2 separate regions of the Homo sapiens genome follow, and region 1 is linked to region 2. Evidence: promoter capture Hi-C in human tissues and cell types (Jung and others, 2019). All regions are on one chromosome and are shown on one strand. Each heading gives the region's core, a stretch centred on a gene start or on the middle of the fragment in contact. The rest is flanking DNA. Distances are from core to core; before and after follow the strand shown. Region 1 holds the start of TLX3 (T cell leukemia homeobox 3). Region 2 holds the start of RANBP17 (RAN binding protein 17).

Evidence for each region. The method cuts DNA at HindIII sites, captures the fragments that hold promoters and counts their contacts. A contact is called where the count stands out against the background at its distance.
Region 1: the fragment with the promoter of TLX3 here is called in contact with the fragment with the promoter of RANBP17 in region 2 in 2 of the 25 tissues and cell types used here (H1 embryonic stem cells and neural progenitor cells).

What each region holds. Positions count from the first base shown.
Region 1 is chr5:171,306,059-171,312,281 of GRCh38, reverse strand. It overlaps TLX3 (T cell leukemia homeobox 3), which reads right to left and starts at 3,034. Exons shown (of 3, transcript NM_021025.4): 1 at 2,496-3,034; 2 at 1,889-2,132; 3 at 143-893. The coding sequence starts at 2,916. The coding sequence ends at 683. RefSeq lists enhancers at 886-1,771, 1,772-2,656, 2,657-3,542, 3,543-4,427. The HindIII fragment of the contact is 20,402 bases long and covers 1-6,223 here.
Region 2 is chr5:170,858,352-170,864,167 of GRCh38, reverse strand. RANBP17 (RAN binding protein 17) reads right to left here and starts at 2,150. Exons shown (of 28, transcript NM_022897.5): 1 at 2,117-2,150. The coding sequence starts at 2,134. The HindIII fragment of the contact is 7,494 bases long and covers 1-4,907 here.

The DNA of each region.
Region 1 (6,223 bases), core at 1,785-4,284, 450 kb before region 2:
TGCAGCCGAGGCGAATGCAGACGAACGTTGCGGAAGTGGACGCGCCCTGCGCGCCGCCGCTCGGCTTCTACCGCCGCAGGGGTGGGGCGCAGGGCCGGGGGTCGCCGAGCATTATTGGAACGAAAACGAAATAAAAGCGGCGTTAAGTGAAATAGCTAACTTTTTTATTAAATAAAAAGACTTAAATAAAAGGAACGGAAAAGAAGAAGAGTGGACCCAGCCTAAACGCAGGGTGCCCCGGGCCCCTGGCACTTCCCCCAGCGGCCGGGTCGGCTGCCCTTCCTCCAGCGGCCCCCGCGGGGGAAGCAGGTGGCCGGTTTCTAAAGAAAAAAGCCAAAACTTTTTTATTATTTACACGTTTGGGCAAAAGTACAAAGTATAATACAGGCGCCCGGCCCGGGGGGTGCGGGCGGGGGGCGGAGAAACGTAAGGCGCTTTCTTGTCAGGCCCGGGCCTGGGGCGGGACGGGGCGCGGGGCGGGGGCTCGGATTGTGCGGCCGCGCGGAGCTCGGGCCCTACCCCCTTCCGCGGCCCGCCAGTCTGTGGCCGCGCCCTGGGGCCTACTCGGGCTAGGCGGCCCCTTCCCCTCTCGGCGCCGGTTCCCCCGCAGCCCGCCTGGGGGGTCCGGGGCGCCCGGCTGGGTGGGGGCGGCGATCCGTGGCGACGGTGCGCGCTGGTGGGCTCACACCAGGGAGGTGACAGCGGGAACCTTGGAACTATCCTCCTCCCAGGGCTGCAGATTCTGCAGAGCAAAGAGTGACGAGTTGTGCAGACAGAGCGGGTCAGGCTGGATGGAGTCGTTGAGGCTCTTTTGGAAGGCGTCGTGTTGCAGCTGCAGCATGAGCCGGCTCGCCTGCTGCCGCTCCGCCTCCCGCTCCTCCGCCGTCTGCCGCCTGCACCGGGGGAGGGAGAGGGACAGTACCGTCATGCACCCGGCACCGCGGGGCCGCCGGCGGGGCCCCGGCCCTCCCGGGAGCCGAGGCCATCCGGGAGCCTCGAGGCGCAGAACCCGTCTGCCTCCCAGCCCGCGCTTTACGCCCGAGGCTCTTATATCCAGGGAGCCGGTTAGGATCATTTGTTTTTGTTGTGTGCCAGAGGGTCTCCAGGAGGGGACTCTGCCCGCCGCCCACCTGCACGCCCGGGTATTGTGGCTTCACCAACAATAAAGATTGTTCCTTTCGCCAGATAGCAAGGGCAGGGCCTATGTGTAACTGACTTGGCCCTGCGGGAACCGGGGTCGCTGGGGTCCGCGGGTGAGCAGGCTGGCTCTGCACCACCCGCACGACGCCCGGGGGCTGGGTCAGTCTCATCCAGTTCGCCCAGGGCCTGTCTTGAACCCCTTTCCAGACGCGATCGCTTCGCCGTTTACGGGTTGAATCAAAACAGAGATCGGATAAAAACGCGGCTGGAATGGAGACGCGGAGATGGGGGGAGAGGAAACCGGCGTCCACGAGGATTGTTGAAAATCCGAGAGGGCGGGCTGGAAGAAGGAGGAGAAGGAGAGTGCGAGAGGCCCGTGTGTGTGCGCGTGTGTGTGTGTGTGTGTGTGCCTGTGTGTTTGGGGCGGGGGTGGGTGAGAGGAAATCAAGTGAACGCAGGAGACCGTACAAAACACGGGGAGAGAGTTGGAGGGGCTCACGAAAGATGGGGATGGGGATGGAGGAGAAACCAAGGCGTGGGAGACCACGATGGAGAGAGAAGCACAGGCCAGCGAGAAGGGTGAAAGGAAGAGGTACAATCTGCGAAGGCGGGGTGGGGGTGTGTTTGGGGGAGGCAGAGGGGGGCGGGGGTAGTGGATAGCCTTAAAATAGGGCTAGTGCGAGGCTGCGGCTCGGGGCGGGACAGGTGAAGGGCAGGTGTAAGGTGGGCCGGGTCAGGCCTCTCTCACCGCCACTTGGTCCTCCGGTTTTGGAACCAGGTCTTGACCTGCGCGTCCGTCATTTTGAGGGACTTGGCGAGCGCCGCCCTCTCGGCAGAGGCCAGGTACTTCTGGCGATGGAAGCGCTTTTCCAGCTCGCAGATCTGCACCCGGGAAAAGGACGTGCGCGGCTTCTTACGCTTGGGCGGCGTCCGGTTCTGGTAGGGGTGGCCGATGCGCCGGGTCACGGTGAAGGGCGTGAGTGCGGCCGCCGCTGCGGAGACACAGGAGGGCCCCTGAAGCCCAGCCCGGCTCCGCCACCGTTCAGGCCCCATGCGGACCCCGTGGCGCCCCGTGGGACACGGAGAGCTCCGCTATTTCGCTGGTCGCGCGCGTTTCCAGAGACACCAAGCCGGTCGGGAGACCCCCTCGCCCCCTGTCCCTTCCCCCGGGCACGGGCTTATTTTCCTGCAACTCTCCGATTACCCTCCCCACCACGGCTGCCCGGGGCCCTGGGGCCGAGGCCTCCGCCGCGCTTGGGCCTCTGAAATGGTTTCCGGGAGTGGAGCGCACAGGGCGCGGCGCCTCTGGCCCCGAGAGGGCGGAGGCCTGGAGCCTGGTCGCCAGCTCTGCTCACCTGTGAAGCGGTCTTTCACGAAGCGGCGGCTGCTCTCCATCCAGGGGAAATTGAGACCGCCAAGGCTGGAGACCGTGGGCACGGAGGGCATGGCGGGTAGCGCGCTTGGCAGAGGCGGTGGCACGGCCCCGGGCAGCGGCCTGTGCGCCGGCACCCGGATCACGCCTGCGGGCGCTAGGCTCAGGTTCACACTGTAAGATCCCGCGTCCTCGAAGGGCGCGCCGAGGCCCGCAAAGGAGGCGGGCAGAGACGGGTATGTGGCGCCCGGACGGCCCCCGGGGGGCCCTCCCAGGTAGCTGGCGCCGTCGGGGCCCCGCGGGGCGGGTGCGCTGTCCTGGTCCGGGCTGTTAAGGATCTGGTCGATGCCGAAGCTGATGGGCTCGTGCGGGTGCGGGGTCTGCGCGCTGGCGGGCGCCTCCATCCTGGGCGGGCGGAAGGGCTGGGCTGGGCTGGGCGGGGAGGCGGCTGGGTCCCCGTTACGGCGCGGCCATGGAGCGCCCGGCGCCTCTCGTCGCACTGAAACTTTGCCAAGAGTGCGCGGGCCCGACAGGCTCTGTGTCATCTTTCTTGAACCGAACCTGGAGTTTCCGCTGCTAATTCCTCTCCTGCCGCAGCCATTGGCTGCGATCAACAAGCCTCTCTCCTCTCATTGGCTCCCGGCTTTCAATAAAGGCCTAATTCATGGAAATAGGAGCTTAGGGACTGTTCCAAGGTGACATCATTTTAACAAACGAACAATAGGTCAAATTTATTAGCAGGGATAATGGGCGGCGGATATTAGAGCCCGAACCACAGCCTCCCAAACCCGAAATCTAACGAAGCTGCAATTAGCAGACGCTCCCCGCTCCTCCGGGCCGGGCCGCTTCCCAGACACCGCGCTGGGTGGGTAGAGCGCTCCGCTTGTGAAATTGTCTTTTGCTGAGTGGGTTTTCGTTTTCTTCCAATTTTTTTTTTTTTTCATCTGAGCAAAAGCCAAACCAAATGCATCCTTTCAGGTACAATGGAGTTGCAACCCCGGGACGACCCGGCGGAATCCGCAGAAGCCCCTTGGACGCTACCGCCGCCGGAGGAACGAAAGGGGCGCACTACCCGGGGCAGGCTTCGCGCTGCCTGCGCGCGGGGCGAGGGGAGCACCGTAGCGTTCTCCGCGCCCCGGATGACGCCGACCCGCGTGGGGAGAATTCGCCCCCGCCCGGGTTTCGGCCGCGGCCTCGCGGCCACTTTGGAGACACTCCCTGGCTCCGGCCAGGCGGACCGAGGCGTGACTCGCAGGTGCCCACGCGTGCCAGCTGCGGCTGGGCTAGGGACGCGGGGTCGCCCGGTGGGGAGCGGGGACCTGACTCTCGTAATTCGTTGCAGGATGGAAGGGGGCTGTGGTCGCGCGTGGGAACCCGCTCGCGGCTCGGCGGGTCTAGGGACTTCGGGTTCCTGAATGTCAAAGGCGCGGGCAGCTCCTAGAGCAAATTGCGGGATTTCTTTGGGAAACGCGACTGGTGAGCCCTTCCCGGCTCCAGTCCACTTTGGGCGCTGGAACCACTCCCCGTTCTGCTCGCGCCTCAGTGACTGTCTACCCGGCCCAGGGCACCGTGGACAGGACCGCACACGAAGTAGTCACCTTCCGCTGCAGCTTTGGGGAGACAAGCGGAATCATTTTCTTCCAGCGAATTCTAAAATCGTTAGGTGCAAACTCTTTGAGTGTCGCACCCCTGGCCTGGGTTCTTCCTCCCGCTCCTTGTGGTGTGGACAGTGGTGAGAGCTCGGATGTGCTGTTGTTGGCCAGAAGTGTGTTCAAATTTGGACTGGCCATTTCCTCGCTGAGTGACCTTGAGAAATTGACTCTATATATTTAGATTTCGGTTTTCTCGTTTGCAAAAAAGGAAAATAATGCATGCATGCGGGTTGTTCGTGAGCCGCGAGTGAGATATTGAGGGAGCGCAGAGCACTGGGCCTGGCACGTAGTAGGCACTGGGCAGCGTGGCTCACCTCCCACTCTATCCCCCCAGAGTAATGGCTGATGTATTATTGTTGTGACTCTTGTTTATTTTGTTGGCAGTTTAATTTTATTTGCAGGGGCTCAGTACGTTGGAGAGAAAGGTGTATTTGTCTACCAGTAGGGTCAGTTTCAGAGGACGGGGAAAGACAGGAGGTGCAGGTTGGGGATTCTTTCTCTCTTCTCCCAACAATCCAAAGGCGTCAGGATTTGCAGGGCCTCCAGGCCTGGGTCTGGAGTTAGGTCACTTGCCCGCTGTGTGACCTTGGGCAAATTCCTGGCCCTTGCTAAGCCTTCCTGGTGGGTGTGGAGAGGGAGGCCCAACAGTGAGGAGTGAGAGCTGCAGGATGTCTGGGGTCTGGGCAAGTGCTCCCTCACTCCCTTCCAGCGACAACGACCCTCAGATGGGGTAGATGCCATTGCCCTGGCTCCAGGGGGCCTCCTGCTTCTAATTCAGGCTCTGCCACTGGCAGTGTGGGTCCCTAACCGCCCCTCCCAGAACCGCATTTTCCTTATTTGTAAAACAAAAAGGGCACCAGCTACCCCCAGGGTGGCTGTGAGAACAAAATGAGATAACATCTGTGGCAGTGCCTGTGTGAAACTCTGGCGGTTATATCATAATAACTTTAATGACAACTATAAAGCTACTGTAGCTGAGACCCTAGCCTGTGCCAGGCAGGGAGGTGGACACTTATTTATTCTTCACAATGACCCTGTGAGGAAAGGGCTGTTAGTGGCCCCAATTTCTCACTAATGAGGGAATTGAGGCTTTGAGAGTTCAAGGGAAGCACAGCTCCCCACTTGGGGGCTGGAGTTGGCACCTCACCAGCTCCACTTCCCTTCTGGCTTCCAGTGCCCGGGACTCAGGGCTGCCCTTGTCACTTCAGACACTGTTAAATCAGGACAACAAGGCCCACCGCACAGAGGTTTGTGGCACAGAATTAAGGCGTGGGTGGCACAGCGCTGCTCCCAGCTTGTGTGCTTAAGAATGGGATTCCCACCTCAGTTTACCAGCTGTGGACTCAGGGAATTATTCATCCTCTTTATGCCTCAGTTTTCTCATCTGGTAAATAAACCTCATGGGATTAAATAAGCGCCCCAGGTAAAGCCTGGCACGGGTCAGGGCTCTGCTTCACTGCTTGGCTTCCGGCTTCCTGAGATCCACGGTCCCTCATCGTCCAGCCCTGTCATACAGATGAAGGAGCTTTGGGCCACTAATTATAAGCCTCCTTTCACTTCCTATCCAGATAGCTCTTAGGCAGCTCAGGAATGGGGGGAACTTGGTTAGTCCCTAGGACAGTGGTTCTCAGAGTGTGTTTCCAGAGCAGCAGCATCAGCATCACTGGAGAATTTGTTAGAAATGCAAATTATTGGACCCTCGCCAGACCTACGGCATCAGACACTCTGGGGTAGGACTCGGCAGTCTGTGCTTAACAAGCCCTCCAGGTGATTCTGATGCCTGCTCAACTCTGGAAGCCAGTGCCCAGAATATGGTCCATTCCATCTGAGTTTTCAAATGTGTTGTTGTAACATTGTGGGAAGATTCTCTCAGAATTTGCAACTCTCATACGAATCTGTACTAATGCCTTCCACTTCTCATTCCCCGTGTCGCTCATTCATGCCTTCTCCTGATCATACTTGCCAAAGGTTTGTTATTTTGTTGGTTTTTAAAAAAGCCTTTGATGTCATTATCCCCTTTTAAGATGCCACCTCTTTCGTGAATGTTGCGGTTTAAAAA
Region 2 (5,816 bases), core at 901-3,400:
TGTAACGTTGGGCAAGTCACAACTGTTTTAAGACTCAGTGTCTTCAGAATGAAACGTATATATGCACACTTTTTAAGTTAGTGGCAGGGCTCACCTCTATAATGAGGATATGAAAACTCAAAATGCTAGGTACTGGTTATCACTATTAACAAATGTTCCTTGAGTTAACTGATTAACAATATGATCCTATATGCTAAAAAGAATTCAAACGGAGAAATTTCAGTTTTTTTCTAGTCAACAAAACTGTCTGATCTTTTATTTGTCCAACTCCGCTTTTAAGCTGTCTACAGGAATGTACTGTGAAGTACTTATGTTGGAATGTACTGTGAAGTACATTCCTGCAAAACCAATATGGGTAGTTTTGACATCAGCAGCTAACTTTTCCAACACTGTGCCTAAATATGAAGAAGTCTTCCAGGGCTTGGTGATTTAACTGTACATCACCTTTCCATGTATGAAAAAATTCCAAAGTTCCACCATACCTTTTAATTTACTCTCAAGATTTACTCGGGCTCTGTGAACATCTGATTACCTATTTACAATCCATAAATCCTCCTTGTAAGATTCTTCCTGTGAAAATTTCCCAGAGGGCATATTTACTAAAGTGGTAATACATTATTTTGACCTGAGGACCCTTAGAAATGGCATGAAGTCAAAAGGTAATGTGTCGGGCTTACTACATAACATTCTAGAACTGTCGATTATCAGACAGTAACTGGTTTTAAAAAAAAGACCCTTTAGAAGAATCAATAAATCAGCCAAGTTATAAATCAGTGTGATCACAGGGGGTTCAAAAGAGTCTACAAGGGGAATGAGATTCTTAGATACACTGTCACCATATTATGAAATTCCCTTCCCTCCCTGGGGTCATCTCCTGCCACCCACTGCCTCCCCTGATCCCATCCCTTTGTCCCAACCAGACTCAACTTTCTGCAGTACACCATGTTCTTCCACAATTCTTTGCCTTGGCTCACACGTCCTTCTACCTCCATATCCTTCCCTTCCTCTTCACCTGGCAAACAACTACGACTCTTTCAAGGACCAGTAGACTGCAAGTTCCCTGAGAGTAGAAACCATAGTTTTGTTCAGAGCTGTTGTATCTTCAGCGCCTAGCATAGTAGGCGCTCAATAATTAATAAATGGAAGAATGGAGGCTCAAAGAATCTTAAAGCATCTCTCAGCTAAGAGCATAGCAGCTCTGCTTCACTCCTTCTCAACATACACATTTGGCTGGCTACCCCCTTTTCTGTGCTATGATACTGTGACTATTTCTACCATACATTTTTCACTTGTACTGTAATTCTCTGTTAACTGTATGAGGGCGAGGATAGTAAGATGTCATCCTTTATCCCCAGAACTTTCCACAATGCTTGAGACACAGTGGGGAGATAATAAATGTTTGCTGAATAACTGAACGGGGATGTCAGAGCAGCCCGAGGATATACAAGCACGCGTCCCATCTTCGTAGCCTCTGCGATCCTCGCGTCCGCGCCCGCGCCCGCGCCCGGCCCGGGTTTCCTCCTCCGAAGAGGCGGCCGCGTAGCCCTCCCTCGCAACTCCCCCCAGACGCAGCCCCTGTCTCCTCTGGCCAATTAAAGTCCAACCGCTGCCGCCGCTCCTTCGGTGGATCCCAAGCCCCCGCTCCGGCTGGGGCTCAACTGTGTGGAGGGAGGCTGACGATAGAGCCGCGCCGGCGACGCGGCGGGAAGGCGGGAAGGCTGCTCCACCGCTCGGCAGCCGCGCGAGGCGCGCCAAAGCCGGCCCAGCTGGGACTCCCACCTGCCCTGGCAACACTAAAGCCGCGGTCAGCGAGCGTGCTGCCGGCGTCCGCACCTTCCCCGGGACGAGCCCTGGGCCTGTCCCCCGCCCCCTCCACCCGCCGCCTCCAACCCAGGCTCGGCCGCCCCTTTCTCGGGCTCCGGCCCGGGCCTGGGGTGTGCAGCCCAGACCAGTGTCCCGGTCCCCGGCTAGGGGCAGAGGCAGGGGCTGGGACTCCGGGGACACCGGCCCACGGCCCTGCGGCCTCCGCCGCTGTCCTCGGCCCTCGGTCTCCAGACGCGTCCCGCCGGGTTCCCAGCGTGGCGGAGCGCGGGCCCGCGGCGCAGAGCACACTGACCTGGAAGTGCAGCGCCATCTTCCCAGGAGGCGGCGCCGGCCAGCCGGCCGGTCGGCACCCAGCGCCCGAGGGGAGGGAGCAGAGGCGGGCGCCGCGGAAGCCCCAGACGCCCGCGGGGTCCCTGCGCCGCTCGTCCTTCGCAGCCTCAGCCAGGCTTCGCGTCCGCATTCGAAGCGCTGGAGGGGCGGGGCTGGGAGGGACGGGGCGGGGCTGGGAGGGACGGGGCGGGGCGACGGAGGCGGTGCACGGGGCGGGGCCGATAGGGGCGTGTCCTCCGGGAATCTCAACCGTCCCTTGCGCTCAAGTTTCAACCGGCGTGTGTTGGTGGGTCATGACCTCCAACCTCTGCCCTTTGACACAACTACCACGACCCACCCGTCAGCCGTGGACCCTGACTCATAAGTCTTCCAAAGGCTCTCTTGACCCCTGACCCTCAAAATACAACTATCGCCCATGGCTCCCGACACCTGCATCTCCACAGATTTTCTTGTCTCCTAACAGCCAGGAACCACAGACACACACAGCCATAACCTTTGACTCCCACATGCCAGCTGTTGCCCTTGACCCCTGACTCCCAGGGCCCAAATTCCATTGTTGCTTAACAATGTTTTTAACTTGATTTTGGTTAAAATTAAACCGCCCATGTCTACATGCTGTTAAGTTGTAAAATTCAAGCTTTACCTCATTCTTTGTCTGCATTTTGTTTAATATGAACTTATATTTTACAACAAATGATTCCACTGCAATGAGAATTTATTGGAGCAGAATTGGGTCAAAGTTGCTGCTTTCTGATGTTCTCCGTTTTTTCTTCAAGTTCAGCATTTCCATTTGGGAGCACTGTGCTGTAGTATTTAAGAGGGAAACTCCCTTAAGCACTTCTTGTATTCAGGTCTGCTAACAACAAAGTCTCTCAGCTTTTGTTAACATAAAATCATCTTAATTCACCTTCATTTTTTAAAGGATAGTTTTGCTGGGTATAGAATTTCACATTGGCTTTTTTTTTAATCTTTCAGCATTTTAAAAATGTCTTCTCATTGTCTTCTGCTTGTCATTGTTTCTATTGAGAAATCAGCCATCAGTCTAATTGTTGCTCCTGTCTTTTGGCCCCCTCCTCAGGTACTTGAACATTTTTCTCTTTTTTTATTTTTTCTTTTTGTCTTCAGCACTTTGTGCTTGATGTCGCTAAGTGTGTGTGTGTGTGTGTGTTGTATTTATCCTGCTTGGGATTCATAAAGCTCTTTAAGTGTGAATGTAATCTTTTTTATCAAGTTTTGAAAAATCTTGGTCACTAGTTCTTTAAATATTGCATCTGTCCCCTTCTCTCTCTCTACCTCTCCATTCTGGAACTCCAGTTACATGTATGTTATAAGTTTTTGCTATATTCCTTATTTCTATTCTGTATTTTTTATTTGCCTGCTGTCCATTCCATAGAAACTCTGTTCTGCTGTGTCTGAGCTGCTATACATCCCCTCTATTGAATTCTTAGTTTTAGTTATAATATTTTCAGTTCTAGAATTTTCATTTAGAAAGTTGAAATTTTCATGGTTCCTCCTCCTCTCCCATTTTAAAAATAGATTCCAAGGCTTTGATGAAATTCTTTGTCTTTATTTTCTTAAACATTTTAACTGTATTATTTAAAGCCCTTATCTGTTAACTCCAATTTCTGAATCATCTGAGTCTTCCTGGGTTTTTGGTGCTTGGCCCTTGGCCCTTTTTTTTCTTTCTTTTTTTTTTTTTTTTTTTTTTTTTTTTTTTTACATATCTCATGATTTCTTGTTGAATTCAAACCATGTAGAAGAAAATTTGTAGAGGCTCTGGATGATAACAGGTTTCTCCAAGGAGGGCTAAGTTTTCTTGTGGTAGGCAGACAAGAGTACTAGTGGATCATTGAGTCTTTTTAATTCTGGTTAACTTCAGTTATGACCTTACTCCTAGGCCATGGTCCTTACTAGGTCTTACAACTAAAAGCCTAGAATGTGGCTGGGCATGATGGCTCATGACTATAATCCCAGCACGTTGGAAAGCCAGAGAGGGTGGATCGCTTGAATCCAGGAGTTTGAGACCAGCCTGGGCAACATGGTGAAAGCCCATCTCTACAAGAAATACAAAAAATTAGCTTGGTGTAGTAGCATGTGCCTGTAGTTCCAGCTACTCGGGAGGCTGAGGTGGGAAGACCCCTTGGGCCCAGAAGCTATAGGCTGCAGTGGGCCGTGATTGCACCACTGCACTCCAGGCCAGGCAACAGAGCAAGAATCTGTCTCAAAAAAACAAAAGCCTGGAATGTTTACCAAGATCCTTCCACCTTGTGGGGCTTGAACTCTAGTCTCTGTCTCTTCAGCCCTGTGTAGCTGCTGAAATCTTTGTTGAGCTCTTTAGGTGCTGTTGTTCTGCTGGATTTCTTAGAGTCTCTTCATGTGCATGTATATCTTAGGAACGGACACAAATTTGGGGACTCACATCTCTATAGTTTCTTTCTTTCTAGAATTTTGTCCTTCAAATCTCAGTTGCTCTTGTTCCGAAACTCCAGCCTTTGCTCCTAGCCTATTGAGACTGCTGCTTTCTATTTAGCTGTTATTCCTTGCTGCCACTTGGAAAATGCCTTGGGGTGATGACAGGGAGGAGCAGATGGGGAATCTAAGGTAAATTGGAATCTTACCCCTTGTGCTTTCCTTCTTTCAAGATTTGTGGCCACTTAAGTTCTGCCTTTTCTATTGCCTTTAGTTGTTAAAGATACTTATCTGTCGTGTGTGTGTGGGTGTGTGCATGCATGATTGCTGATAATTCATATTTACTCATAGTTTTATATATATTTAATATATGTGATAGAATTGTCATACACACACGTGTCCTATCTTTATAATAGTTTTCAGTGGGAGGTCTAATCCAACATAAGATACTTTATTATTATAAGCCTGTTTGCATCTTCCATGCTTCACCCTTGGTTTTCATAGCTCATCCACTGTCCATAAATCTGCATTTCCACAACTGAACTCCTTTAAACCTTAAAATCGTTAATACCCTCCCCCTGTGTCCCATTTTCACTCCTGTGTCCCAAAGTTCCTGATTCCCATAGTCGTAACTTCCATTTCCATGTCTCAATACTTTTGATATCCAATCTCAACTGTGATTCCCACAACCCAACATATCTGATGCCCACATCCCAAACACGCATCCTGATTTCTGACCTCTGTAAGATGTCTGCTGCACAATACCCCGTTATTTTAACTGCCTGCTGCTTTTGCCTAACTTCTAAAACCCAACCACCTTTTAAAGCTATTGTTTTAAAATGGCATTTTTATCACCTCAAATTTTAGGTCCTTGAGGGAGAAACAATTATTTGAGTTTTGAATCATTTAATTTTTTTCCCACTCCAGAATATTGTCACCAGAAATGTAGGGCTGTGAAAACAACAGAGGATGCCAAGTACTCTGTGGATTCACCAGGCAATTCTGGAAACAAGAAGACAACTTTTTTTCCTTTTTTTTTTTTTTTTTTTTTTTTTGAGACGGAGTCTCGCTCTGTCGCCCAGGCTGGAGTGCAGTGGCGGGATCTCGGCCCACTGCAAGCTCCGCCTCCCGGGTTCACGCCATTCTCCTGCCTCAGCCTCCCAAGTAGCTGGGACTACAGGCGCCCGCCACTACGCCCGGCTAATTTTTTGTATTTTTAGTAGAGACGGGGTTTCACCGTTTTAGCCGGGATG